3 separate regions of the Homo sapiens genome follow, and regions 1 and 3 are each linked to region 2. The links are contacts of gene promoters, found by promoter capture Hi-C in human tissues and cell types (Jung and others, 2019). All regions are on one chromosome and are shown on one strand. The core of a region is centred on a gene start or on the middle of the fragment in contact, and the rest is flanking DNA. Distances in the headings are between cores, read along the strand shown.

What was found. Contacts are between HindIII fragments. The study calls those that stand out against the background at their distance.
Region 1: a fragment that was not itself captured here is called in contact with the fragment with the promoter of ZNF618 in region 2 in 5 of the 25 tissues and cell types used here (IMR-90 fibroblasts, heart right ventricle, mesenchymal stem cells and 2 more).
Region 3: a fragment that was not itself captured here is called in contact with the fragment with the promoter of ZNF618 in region 2 in 1 of the 25 tissues and cell types used here (hippocampus).

What each region holds. Positions count from the first base shown.
Region 1 is chr9:113,840,721-113,845,109 of GRCh38, forward strand. No RefSeq gene overlaps it. Among named protein-coding and RNA genes, the nearest start is that of ZNF618, 33 kb to the right of the region's middle. The HindIII fragment of the contact is 3,413 bases long and covers 1-3,152 here.
Region 2 is chr9:113,875,010-113,879,194 of GRCh38, forward strand. It overlaps ZNF618 (zinc finger protein 618), which reads left to right and starts at 1,300. Exons shown (of 15, transcript NM_001318042.2): 1 at 1,300-1,404. The coding sequence starts at 1,372. The HindIII fragment of the contact is 30,531 bases long and covers 1-4,185 here.
Region 3 is chr9:113,820,855-113,824,869 of GRCh38, forward strand. No RefSeq gene overlaps it. Among named protein-coding and RNA genes, the nearest start is that of ZNF618, 53 kb to the right of the region's middle. The HindIII fragment of the contact is 8,763 bases long and covers 1-4,015 here.

The DNA.
Region 1 (4,389 bases), core at 196-2,695, 34 kb before region 2:
ACTGGTAAATAGCTCAGAATGCCAGCCCTGCTGAGAGGTATATATTTAAAAGGGAGAGTTACAATTGTCATTCTTCGTAGCTGATGTATTGACCTATGAAAGCCAAGAAGATCAAAGGAAAAAATATTCAAAGCATTTAGTAAGAATTTGTAGTGCAAAAATATCAACAATGTATGTGTATATGAATAGCTATATGTAGATCTACATCTATAACTAGCTTTTCTATATAGCAAGGATAATTTCAACTTAATAAAAATATGCATAACATTGTGAAGAACAGAACTTAACTGGGGAACATAAAAGAAGATACATTATTATCCTAAATGGAAGGATTCAATATTGGAACTCTCCTCAAATTAATCTGTATGTTAACACTATCTCTATCAAAATCTTGCTATTTTTATACTTGATACAATTATTTTAAAGGTATTTATATAGGTATTAAATTTTATTTAAAAAATGCAAGAATAGAAAAAAGCTGGAAAAAAATAAGGTGGGGTGTATTGGATCTGCTTTACTAAATGTTAATATGTGCTAAAAGTTTGCAATATGAAAATAATATAGTTCTAAGACAAGAATAAATGAAGACACTAACAAAACAGAATAGAAAGTCCTCAAAAGACTCAAGGCGTACAGCAATTCAGTATATTATAAGGACAGCATCTCAAAATCAAAGGAAAAAGAACAACTATTCAATAAATGATGGTACAACTGGCTAGCCATTTTTAAAAAAAGAAAGTTGGATGCCTAACTCACATCATACACCAAAGTAAATCCCAGTAACATGAAAGACATAAACATCAGTGAGACATTTAGAGCAATTAGACAAAAATATAGAGGAATATTTACATAATCTCGAAATAGAAAGGGCTCTTTTAACCATTATAAAATAGTTGTATAAAAATAATGAGTAAAGTAAAAAATAAACTAATCTATGAGAAAAATTTGAACATTCCAATAGAAAAGTGGACAGGAGCATACTTATGAATAAACACAGGCAGCCAGTAAGCATAAGAAAAGATGCTTAACTCAGCTATAATTAGAGAATGAACATAAAAGCAAGATATCAGTTTTCACTCATCATGTTGGTCACAAGTAGAAAAAACCATGCCGTCTATTGGCTAGAGTATGGAGAAAGAAAGGTTTCAATTAGAGCAGTCGCTTGAGGTGGGAGTGGAGTAACAACTTGGAAGTACTTAGTCAAGTTCTTAAAATATTCATAATCTTTAATGCAGTAATTCCATATTTAAGAAAATATTCAGGAATGTTTATAACAATGAATGCTCAAGATACTTTTTACAATATTACCTATCGATAAAAAATCAAAAATGACATAAATGGACAAAACATGGGTTTGGTATATTCATATAAGAAGAGGTATACTATGTTCTTATATATCACATAGCATATATACTATATAATAAAGTTATGGTATAATCATATGAAATATACTGTCACAAAATGTTATATTTTACTTGGAGAAGAGTTCATGATACAATTTGATTCATAAAAGCATCATTTCAAGCAGCACATAAACTTTGATGTCATTGTTTTTAAAAGCTTATTACTCATACATCTGTATTATATGTAAGCGTAGAAAGTATTTGTCAAGCTTTATACTAAAATACTAACACTCATCAGCTTTAATGGTAAGCTTAAAGATGATTTTACTTTTCGCTCTTTTTGCTGATCTGTATTTTTTCAACACTTAGACACGAATGACTTCTACAATAATATATATATTTTAAATATTGCTTAGGTTGCCACCCATTAAGTATGGTCCTTAATATTTCAAAGGAGTGTGCTCTGTTGGCTTCATACAAAGGGGAAGAGGAGAATTGGGCTCAGAAGGACTGGCTCAGTCTCCTGGAGACTGATGTTGTTGGCTCATATAAATGGTAAAAATGTACAGTGAGAGAAGACTGCCAACCCGCCTGGGTGTCTGGAGAGGTGGAGTCCACGAGCATCCACCATGGGCTGGAAGGAAAGCTATCTCAGGTGCCCCACGAGCATCCACCTCGGGCTGGAAGGAAAGCTATCTGAGGTGCCCTAGACTCCCAGACAGTCAGGGAGTGTTCTGTGGGTTGAGTTGCCCCATCTCATGGGCCTGTGGCTCTGGTCCTCTCTGCCAGGGAATCAGACACCGGTCCCTGCTGAGTGTGGGCTCCACATGTCCCAGTCACCTTTCTAATTCTGGCTTTATTGATTTCTGGGATGAACAACCACCATTCTCCTTTATGTCCAATGGTGTTACCAAGAAGGGTAAATATGACCGTGCTCAGCTCACAGCTCCCATCTTCTGCCTCACCAAGCTCCTTGTTCAGCCAAGTGACATAGCACCCCACATTATTATCTACTGACAGGCCTGTGTCTGTCATCAGACTTTGCTTCCACTAGCTCAAGAACCCACCTGGTTTGTATCTGCGGCTCTAGCATTTGGCCAGATGCAGTAAACCTGTTGCTAATCCTCGGAAATTTGAGATGAAATTTCATTTTGCCTGCTGTTCCCCAATACCATTCACACATTCAAACAAGCGGTCATTGAGGAACATCTGTGCCTAATAAATACCTGCTTTTCTGCCTAAACAGCACCCACCAGCAACTGACAAACATCTGTCAGTGATTAGTGAGAAGTACAGAGTGGCAGGGTATTGGCCTAAGCTGAGAAAGAGCTGGATTCCTTCCTCCCTCTCCTTCCGCATGGTCCCCTCACAAGGAAGGGCAAGCCCAGGATTTGGACAGAGTATTCCAAGAGCACAGAATTTGGGGATCAAATGATGGCTCGGTCACTTAGAAGCTGTGTCATCTTCAGCAACTGACTTCACCTCTCTGATCCTGTTTCTTTGATTGTAAACTTGAGACTAATAAGTGCACACCTTATGAAACACTTTTGATTATTATATGAAATAATGTATGTAAAGTGCATAGCCTCAGGTCAATAAGTGGAGCTTTAGTTGTTGCTGTTCTTATTCTGGTGATGATGATATGTATTAGATGAGTTAACTCTGGTGAGACTGAAGGACCTTGCCTTGTGTGTTAGGCTGTCCTTGTGTTGCCATAAAAAAACTTCTGAGGCTGGGTCATTTATAAAGAAATGAAGTTTAATTGACTTATGGTTCTGCAAGCTTCAAGGAAGCATGGTGGGGGCATCTGCTTGGCTTCTGGTGAGGCCTCAAGAAGCTTACAATCATGGTGAAAGGTGAAGGGGAGCAAGAGAGAGAGAGAGAGTGGGAGAGAGGTGCCGCACACTTTTAAATAACCAAATCTCATAAGAACACACTCACTATTGTGAGGACAGTACCAAGCCATGAGGGATCCACCTGCATTACCCAAACACCTCCCACCAGGCCCCATCTCCAATACTGGGGATTACAATTCAACAAGATATTTGGAGGGGACATCCAAACTACATCACCTGGACCTCATCACTGTTTGCCATGCCCTTAGACTTGGGTCATGGTGAGACTGGAGAACTCCCATATGACAGATGAGGCTACTGAGGCCCAGAGGAGATGTGACTTGCTCAAGGTCACCAAGTAAGCCTGTCATCATGACCATCAAGACCCAAGTCTTCTTTCCAGGCAAATGCCTTCCATCAAGGCACATGTTCCCTCTGAGGAAGAATTGGGCCTTTAAAAAAGAAATTTAGCCTCTAGGAGGAAAGAGATTTCTCCATTTTCTTGCCTTGACATGAGTTTCCCTGGCACAATTGTCTTTGCATCATTGGTGGGTGGTGAAGGTGGGCTGGTGTTTTCTGATGCATGTTTTACATTTGCTAATTCCATCTCAGCCACCACACACTGGTCTACCCTGAAGAGGCTTACTGAGAAGAGCTGGCAGAGCCAAGCTTCCCTTCTCTTCAGGGAAAAGATGCCTCTGGTTGGAAGTCTGCCATCACCCTTGTATGGCTTGTGGATCCAGAGCACAGCACACTGGGGTATTAAAATGCCAGTGCCTGCTCCTAACAAAACTGCCTCACCAGCTGGCCAGGATCAGCATGTTTCTCATTCTCTGAGGTTGCCAGCTCAGTGTTTTCCTGCCCTGTGGAATGGTGTTTCTGCAAAACACTCTGGGATAGAGGGTACCATGGGCAGAAAAGTTTGGGAAGTTGTGCGAGCCACATTTCCCTCTTGGAAATGCTCCTTGCAAATTAGCATAATATAACCTCTGAAAAGTAGTCAGAAAGGGATTTGTCATCTCACATCTTGCAAATTTATGTAATCACAGAATATAACTTTTTAAAAAGGCAAAATAGTTATTATCACATGGTTGGTTCCCTCACTTCTCTCTGGTCTCTAATGAAGTGTCATCCCCTCAGAGAGGATCTACCTGGTCCCTTTGGCCAAAACAGGACCTCGTGTCTCTTTGGGTCTTCACCCTGCTTTTTGT
Region 2 (4,185 bases), core at 50-2,549:
CTGTTCACCTTGCATCTCATAGAAGAGCAATTCTTAACATTTTTATTCCAAAAATCAACCAGTTGTGGGAGATGTAGGATGGATCCAGTAATCCCTCCTTGTCTCTATAATAGGGCAGGTCCTTCATACTTTCAATTTTTAAAAAATCGGATTTTTTAGGAGAATAGGGAAGAGAATAGAAAAAAAAATCCCTTTTAAACTTTCCCAAGTCACAAGGAGGCAGTTGCTCAAGTTAAAAAAAAAAAAACAACAATAACAACAACAAAAAAACTGGCTATTTTGGGGTGTTGGAAAGAAATATCCTGGTTCACGTTTTATTTCACATGCAAGTTTCTCAAATTTTCCTTCTCTAAATCAACCTAACTGGGGGATATGGGGGTGGGGGGCGCTAATATCCCTTAACCTTTAACCCCTCTTGTCTTACTGTAGGACCAGTTTTTCAAACTTTTATTTAGAAATACATATATATATTTTAATTTGGCAAGGATAGGCAGAAACAGCCGCTTCACTGGCATTTCACATAAAAGCGGCTCCTCAAGTATTTATTTTAAAAATCAGTCTGGCTGGGGGGCTAGAGTCCCCTTAACCACTCTTGTCGGACATGGGGCCAGTCCTTCAAACTTTTATTTTATTACATTAGTTTTTTTGGGAGGAGTGGCAGGGCAATAGAATATTCCCAATAAGCCTTCCAGTCTTCCAGCAAGCCAGCTCTTGAAAACTTTTATTTCAAAAATCAATCTGGTTTTTTTTTGGCGGGGGGGTACAGCGGGGTACAGAGTTCCCATTAACCTCTTGCGTTCCGCCGAGAGCCGGCTCCCTGAACTTTTTTTCCAGCGTGAAAATGACATTTCCGAGGGGCTGGGGGACTGGGGGAGGGCAGAAGGGAGCCGGGGAGCGGGCGCGGGGGGCGCGGGGAGGGCAGGGCGCGGCGCGGGAAAGTTTGGGGGGGCGGGTGTGCCGCGGCACTGGGGCTGGCGGACGGGAGGGCGGGCGCGCCCCTGGACCGGCCGGCTTTGTGTGCCACGCGGAGGCCGGCAGCGCGGAGGCCGAGGCCGAGGCCCCGAGCTCGCGGGCCGCACGGCGAGGCCGGCCCGGGGGCGGGCAGGGCGGCGGGGGGCGGCGGCGGCCCCGCGAGGGGCGGCTCGGCGGCAGCGGCTGCCGCGGCGCGGCCGGTGCGGGCCGGGGGTGGGGGCGAGGGCCGGCGCCCCCCCCGCGCGCCCCCAGCGCCCCCGCCCCCCCGGCCTGAGCGGGGCGGGCGGAGGAGGGAGCGGCGGCGGCGGCGGCGGCGGCGGCGGCGGCATTGTGCGCGCACCAGCAGCCCGGCCCGGGAGGAGCAGGACGCGCCGGGGCCGCCTCCTCCCGCACGGACCCATGAACCAGCCGGGCGGCGCGGCGGCTCCGCAGGTACGACGGGGGGCCGGGGGCATGCACCGCGCGGGGGACCCCGGGGGGCCGGGGCCCGGGGCGCTGCGCCACTTCATTGCAAGATTTGCAAAATGCAAAGTGCCTGGGCACGTTTGCGGGCTTTTTGTGGGCGCAATCGGGAGGGTCGGGGTCCGGAGAGCACCCCCCCGGGCGCTGCGGGGTGCGAGGAGGGTGGGGGTGACGAGGGGGTCTTTTGGGGCCCCCACCCAGCGCCCCCTCCGGCCCCGGGCTCGGACCGGAGCCCAGAAAACAAAGCGGCGAGAGAACAGAGCAGCCATTTCAGTTTGGACAATTCACATTTTGCAAAAATGCAACCCCTTCCAGCTCTGCCCCCTCCCCCCCAAATTTGCAATTTTCCCCTGACCCTCTCTGCGCTCGGGGTCCCCGATGACCCCCCGGGAGGTCTTTCCCCCCAGGTCCCCCATTTTTGCAACAATCTTTTTTTTTAGGCCATATTTTCCTTTCTCAATTTTTTTTTTCTAATTTTTCTTCAAACGGTAGTTTTTTCCCATTAAAACGACGCCACCTAGAGGATACTATTTTGTAAATAAAAAAGAAATTAAAATTGAAAAGAAATATTTTTTATTTCTTATTTTTTCAAAAGTTTGCACTACCAGGCAGTGGAGGGGTAAGAGATTCTTTTTTTTTCTTTTTTCGGGTGAAAATTTTCACTTTGATCTTTCCAGAAGCATGGAGACAATTTTTATTTCTGAAGCCAAATCCAGATAATATGTAAATGAAAATTAAGCTGGAATTTGAATGAATTTAGTTCTTGGAGGGGAGAAAGCAAAAAACCTCCTAAAAGCAAAGTCAGTTTGGGTACCCAACTCATTTTAGTTTGAGAAAAAAACTAATTGGAATAAAGAAAGGAGGGAAATTGTTGAGTTTAGGGAAAACTGAGAGAATTGGCTTTATGAAGCAATTAGAAATTGTACTTCATTGTAATTTGGAACTTGTTTAGCTCAGCGGGCAAAAAAAGACTAATTTCTCTATATGGCAATATTTAAAGTTTTTCTATTTCCACGAACGAAGGATTTAAAAGAGAAAATAGAACCTAAAATGTTGGCTTTGGACACACCCAAAAATTGTAGTTTTTTTTTTTTAATTTTGCATTTACATTTTACTGCATTTAAATCCTAAGATTCTAAAGAAAACAGAAACTAGAAAAGTTACAGTGAAATCCTTTCTTTCTTTTTTTCTGTATTTGTTGGGTTTTGTGTGTGTGTGTGTTTTTTTTGTTTTGATGGAATAATTAAGACTGTTTTCTGATTTTGTTTCCTGAAAGGTCTAGGCATTTCTTTTTTGTTGTTGTTTTATCCAGAAAATGTCAGGAACCTTTTTTGAGCAATATTAAGTGGAAAAAATGTAAATTCATACATTATACAAATTGAGTAGCCCACAGATTTGTAGGAGAGACCGCCATTAAAATAAGATATGCATAATTAACATTATTATGAAAAAACTAACAGTGGATTCACAGAAGCTCATTTTTTATGACATGCAACTGAATCAATTGATGAAGACAAGGATTGAGGAATCCTTGGTAAGGAAGAAAATTTTCCCTTTTCTGTCTTGTTCACCCTTCCAATTTGAAAAATTTATTACTTAAAAAAAATTTAGATTGGTTTCAGGCCTCTTTGATTGTGATGTGGGGTTGGTAGTTTATCAATATTTGTTATTTTTCAAAAACCTGATTACTTTCAAAGGGGGAAAAATCCATTAGCCTTGATCATTTTGGGGGGTTTGTGACCAAAAAAAAAAAATGCACAAATTTTACTGACTTAACAAGAAAAAGATAAAAGAGGGATGGGCAAAAAGGAGATGAAAATTCTGATTCTTATCCATCTTCCTTGGTAGAACACTTACTTTGCTGAAGAAATGTGATATAACACCAACTCAGCTGGTTTTAGCAGCAACAAAATAAAGGAAAAATAATCAAAATACAAACAAAAGCCAAACCCAAGGTTTGCCTTTGGAATATGAAAGCATATATGCAAACAATATTTCATGTGGAGGTTTTGGCCTTAAAATGAATCACATGAAGGTGAAACAAAAAAGAAAAAAAAATTTAAGAAGGCAAATAAATATTGACCGAATTGAAATTTGACAGATGAGAATAAAGTACCCACCCAAAGATGAAGCGTTTTGTGATAAATTAGTATCTAATTGAACTTGCTGGGGATTTTGAGCCTATCCCCCAAAAGTTACAATTTTTCTGTCCAAAAACAGCATATTGTTAGGACTTGCAGGGCGGGATCTTGGAGGGACCTTGGATTGGAAATTGATGGTGGGTCACCTGGGGCAAGAAAGGAAACCCTTTGCTCCTTTTGCCAGCCACTAGCTGGTCTTGGGAAAACTGGTGGCCCCAGTCCATAGATTCCCAACCCTGTTTTGTGGAAATTTGGATGTTTAAGTGGAATAAGTCAAATATATTATCTCTGTGAAATATATTTGACAATGGCAGAGGTTTGACATTTCCCATCATCGCCATTGCATTTGGGAGATTTTATTTTTTTAGTAACGAAATCCTTCAGGGCTGACTGGTCACATTCTGACATATTTGGAATGAGCTTTTTTTTTTTTAAGTAGCATAATTAAAAAAATTTTTTTCTGTTGAATTATTTAGGCCGATGAGTAGGACGGTCAAGGAATTTATAATTTCCAAGGGGCTTTGGAGGCCTCATGAGGCAGAAGGCCTGAGTTTAGCAGTGATGAAGGAGAGATGGGCTGGGGAGGGGTGGAGGGGGGTAGGGGCATCTG
Region 3 (4,015 bases), core at 289-2,788, 54 kb before region 2:
AGAAATAGATTGACGATGGAATTGTTAAGCAGAAATACCCAGACCATAAAGATTTGGAAATTTCTCAATTCTTTGCAGAGAGCAAAGAATATAACCAGAGATAAACAGGATCATTTCATAACACTAAAGGAGCCAATTCATCAGGATGCAACAATCCTGAAGGCTTATGTTCCTTTAAAAAAGCTTCAAAGCCTATGAAGCAAAAATTAATACAACTGCAATAGTTACACAAACCAACAACCAAAGTTGAGGATTTCAACACTCCTTTCTCAATGGACAGAACAAGTAGACAAAAAAATCAGAATGTAGAAGAGTCAAAGAGCATTCTCAATCAACACGACCTATTTGACGCTTAGAAAACATACTACCCAATAATAGCAGACTATACGTTCTTTTTAAGTGTACATAGAATATTTACCAAAATAGACCGTATTATGGGCCATGAAAGACATCTCAATTTAAAAGAATTCAAGTCATACAAAGTATACTCTTTGACCACAGTGTAAATAAATTAGGAACCAATAACAGAAATATATCTTGAAAACTGCCAAATATTTGAAATCTAAATAATATACTTCTAAATAACCCCAAAAGAAACAAAAGAGGAAATTACAAAGTATTTTGAAATGAGTCAAAATAAAAACACGACATATTAAAATTTGTGGGATGCAGCTGAAGCTGTACTTAGAAATTTATACCATTAAACGCCTATTAGGAAAGAAGAAAGTTCTCAAATCATTATCTAACCTGTCATCTTGAGAAACTAGAAAGAAGAGAGAATGAAACAAAGTACACAGTAGAAAGAAAATAATAAAGATCACAATGGAACTTAATTAGAAAAAGCAAAATGATACAGAAAATCAATGAAATAAAAAGTTCTTTTAGAAGATCAATAAGCTCTATAAATCTCTAGCTAAGCTGATAAGAAAATGATTACATCATATGATAATCTCAATATATGCAGAAAAGCCTGTGACAAAATTCAACATTCGTCTATGATAAAGCTCTCAGAAACCCTAAATAGAAGCTGACGAAAGGGATCTATATAAAATGTACAGTTAATATTATGCTTAATGATGAAACAGGAATATTTTCTTTAATATTTTCTGTTAATATCAAAGACCAATAATATCTCTCACCACTGCTAATCAACATTGTACTGGAGATTCTAGCCAGATCAATCAGGCAAGAAAATACATAAACATATACAGATTGTAAAGGAAGAAGTAAAACTGACTTTGTTCACAAATGACTTAATTAGGTACATAACAAATAATCTAATAAAACACTTCAAATCTAATAAATGGGTAACAGATTTGCAGAAGACAAAGTCAATATACAAAGGTCAATAGTATGGAATTCCACCTCTGGGAAGATGGAGTAGATGTAGATTTCCCTATTGCTCCCATTAAGTACAACTAGACACCCTGGATGTAATGTATGTTTTTAAAATAAAAAGAACTCTGAAAGGTCCCAGACTGACAAGGGACTTCAGACTCAAAGAACCACATGGCAGCAATTTCTCTTGGTTTTCTTTTTGCCTCATATACCCCACACTGGGTACTAGATCACGTAGCAACATGAAAACACCAATAAAAGTGTGATGGTTGATTTTGTGTGTCAACTTGAGTAGGTTATGGGATACCCAGGTTGCTGACTAAACATTATTTCTGGGTGTGTCTGTGAGGGTATTTGCAAAAGATTAGCACTTGACTTGGTGAACTGAGTAAAGCAGAGGGCCCTATCCAGTATGGGTGGGCATAATCCAATCTGTTGAGGGCCTAAATAGAAGAAAAAGATGGAAGAAGGTTAAATTTACTCTCTGGCTGACGGAATGAGCTGGAATATCAATTTTCTCCTGACCTTGGCACCATGGTTTTCAGAGCTCAGGCCAGGCTGGAATCTGTACCATTCACTCTCTGGTTTTCAGGCTTTCAACTACACCATTGGTTTTCCTGGGTCTACAACTTACAGAGAGCAGATTATAAGAATTCTCAGCCTGCATAATAATGTACACCAATATCTTATAATACATTTCTTTATATATTTTATTGTATCTATTTCTCTGAAGAACTCTAACACCAATATTGGTACTGAAAACTGGGATGCTGCTGTACTAAATATCTAAAAATGTGAAAAATGTGAAAGGATTTGGAACTGGGAAACAGGTAGAGGCTGGAAGCATTTTGAGGTGCATCCTTAAAAAACCGACATTGCCATGAAGGGACTTTTGAAGGCAATTCTGCTGAGGGCTCAAAAAGAAAAGAGAAGAGCTGTAGATAAATCTTCTGTGGTTTATAGAGAATACATGAATAATCACATATAGAATTGGTATAAATATGATTGTTGAGGGAAATTCTATGAGGTCTCAGGTGGAAATAAGAAATACGTTATTGAACAATGGAGAAAATGTAATCCTTGTTAAAATCTAGTGTTTTGTGGAAGGTAGAAATTGTAAGTGATGACACCAGATATTTAGCTAAGAAAATTTCTAAGCAAAGTGTTGGAGTGGTATGGTGCCTCCTGACTGCTAACAGTAAAATGCAAGAAGAGAGAAATAAGTTGAAGATAGAATTGTTAAGCAGAAAAGATCCAGAACTTAAGATTTGGGAAATTCTCAGTCTATCCATATTGCAAAAAATGAGAAACCATGTTTGGAAGAGAACATCAATAAATGGGCCAGCCAATCATTTAATAAGGAGATTAGTGTGGATGCAGACCACAGACCTTATCAGCCATCTCAACAGATGCCAAAAATAGAAATGGGACTGTACCAGTAAAAACACTGCCAGCAGGAACTAAAGGAAATGGAGAAAATGGAATGGAATGAAGGAAGGCTGTGAATATATGTGAATATCCTTCAAAAAGAAGAAGGACTCCAAATGCAATTGAGAGATCATCAACAGGGCAGATGGCCTCCAACAGAAGCCATGCGGGTAGGACTGCCCAGCAGCTCAGGGGGCATGATCCCCACACAGCAGAACCGTGACATACGTGGGGCCACCACAGAGAGACATACATGGGCAATGCCCTGCTGAGCTGTGGGGGTGACATTGCCACGACAGTGGGTGAGGAAGACAAATTATCAAGCCAAAGAAGACTACTCTTGAAGTTTAAGATCTCATGGAGTTTGCCTTGATAGGTTTTGGGCTTGCTTGGGACTTGTCACCCATTTTTTCTGTACTAATTTTCCCTTTTAGATTGGAAATGTTTATCGTATGCCTGTTCCACCATCATATTTTGGAAGCATATCATTTGTTTTCACAGTTTCACAGCTGGGGAATTTTGTTTCAGGATGAATCATACCTTGAATCTCACCCATATCTAGCTTAGATGATATTTAGATGAGAATTTAGACTTACTGCTGAAAAAATGTTGAGACTTTTGGAGTTGTTAGATTGAAATGAATGCATTTTGCATACAAGAAGGACATGAATTTTGAGGAGCTAGGGGCAGAATGTTGTGGACTGAATGTTCATGTCCTCCCAAAACTCATATATTGAAATCCTAACTCCAACTGTTATGGTATTAGGAAGTGAAACTTTAGGGGGTGATTGGGTCATAAGGGTGGAGCCTTCATGAATGGGATTAGTGCCCTTATAAGAACCATGAAGGAGCTTTCTTTTCTCTCTCCACTCTCTGATACTTGAGGATATAATGAGAAGATGGCCATCTGTATACCAGCAAGAGGGCCTTCACCAAGAACCTGACCATGCAGGCACCTTGATCTCTGACTTCCAGTCTACAGAACTTTAAGAAATAAAATTTGTTGTCTAAACCACTGTATTAGTCTGTTCTCATGCTGCTAATAAAGGCATACCCGAGTCTAGATAATTATAAAGGAAAGAGGTTTAATTGACTCACAATTCTACATGGCTGAGGAGGCCTTGCAATCATGGCAGAAGGCAAGGAGGAGCAAGTCACATCTTACGTGGTGGCAGGGAAAATAGAGAATTTGTGCAGGAGAACTCCCCTTTATAAAACCATCAGATCTTGTGAGACATATTCATTATCA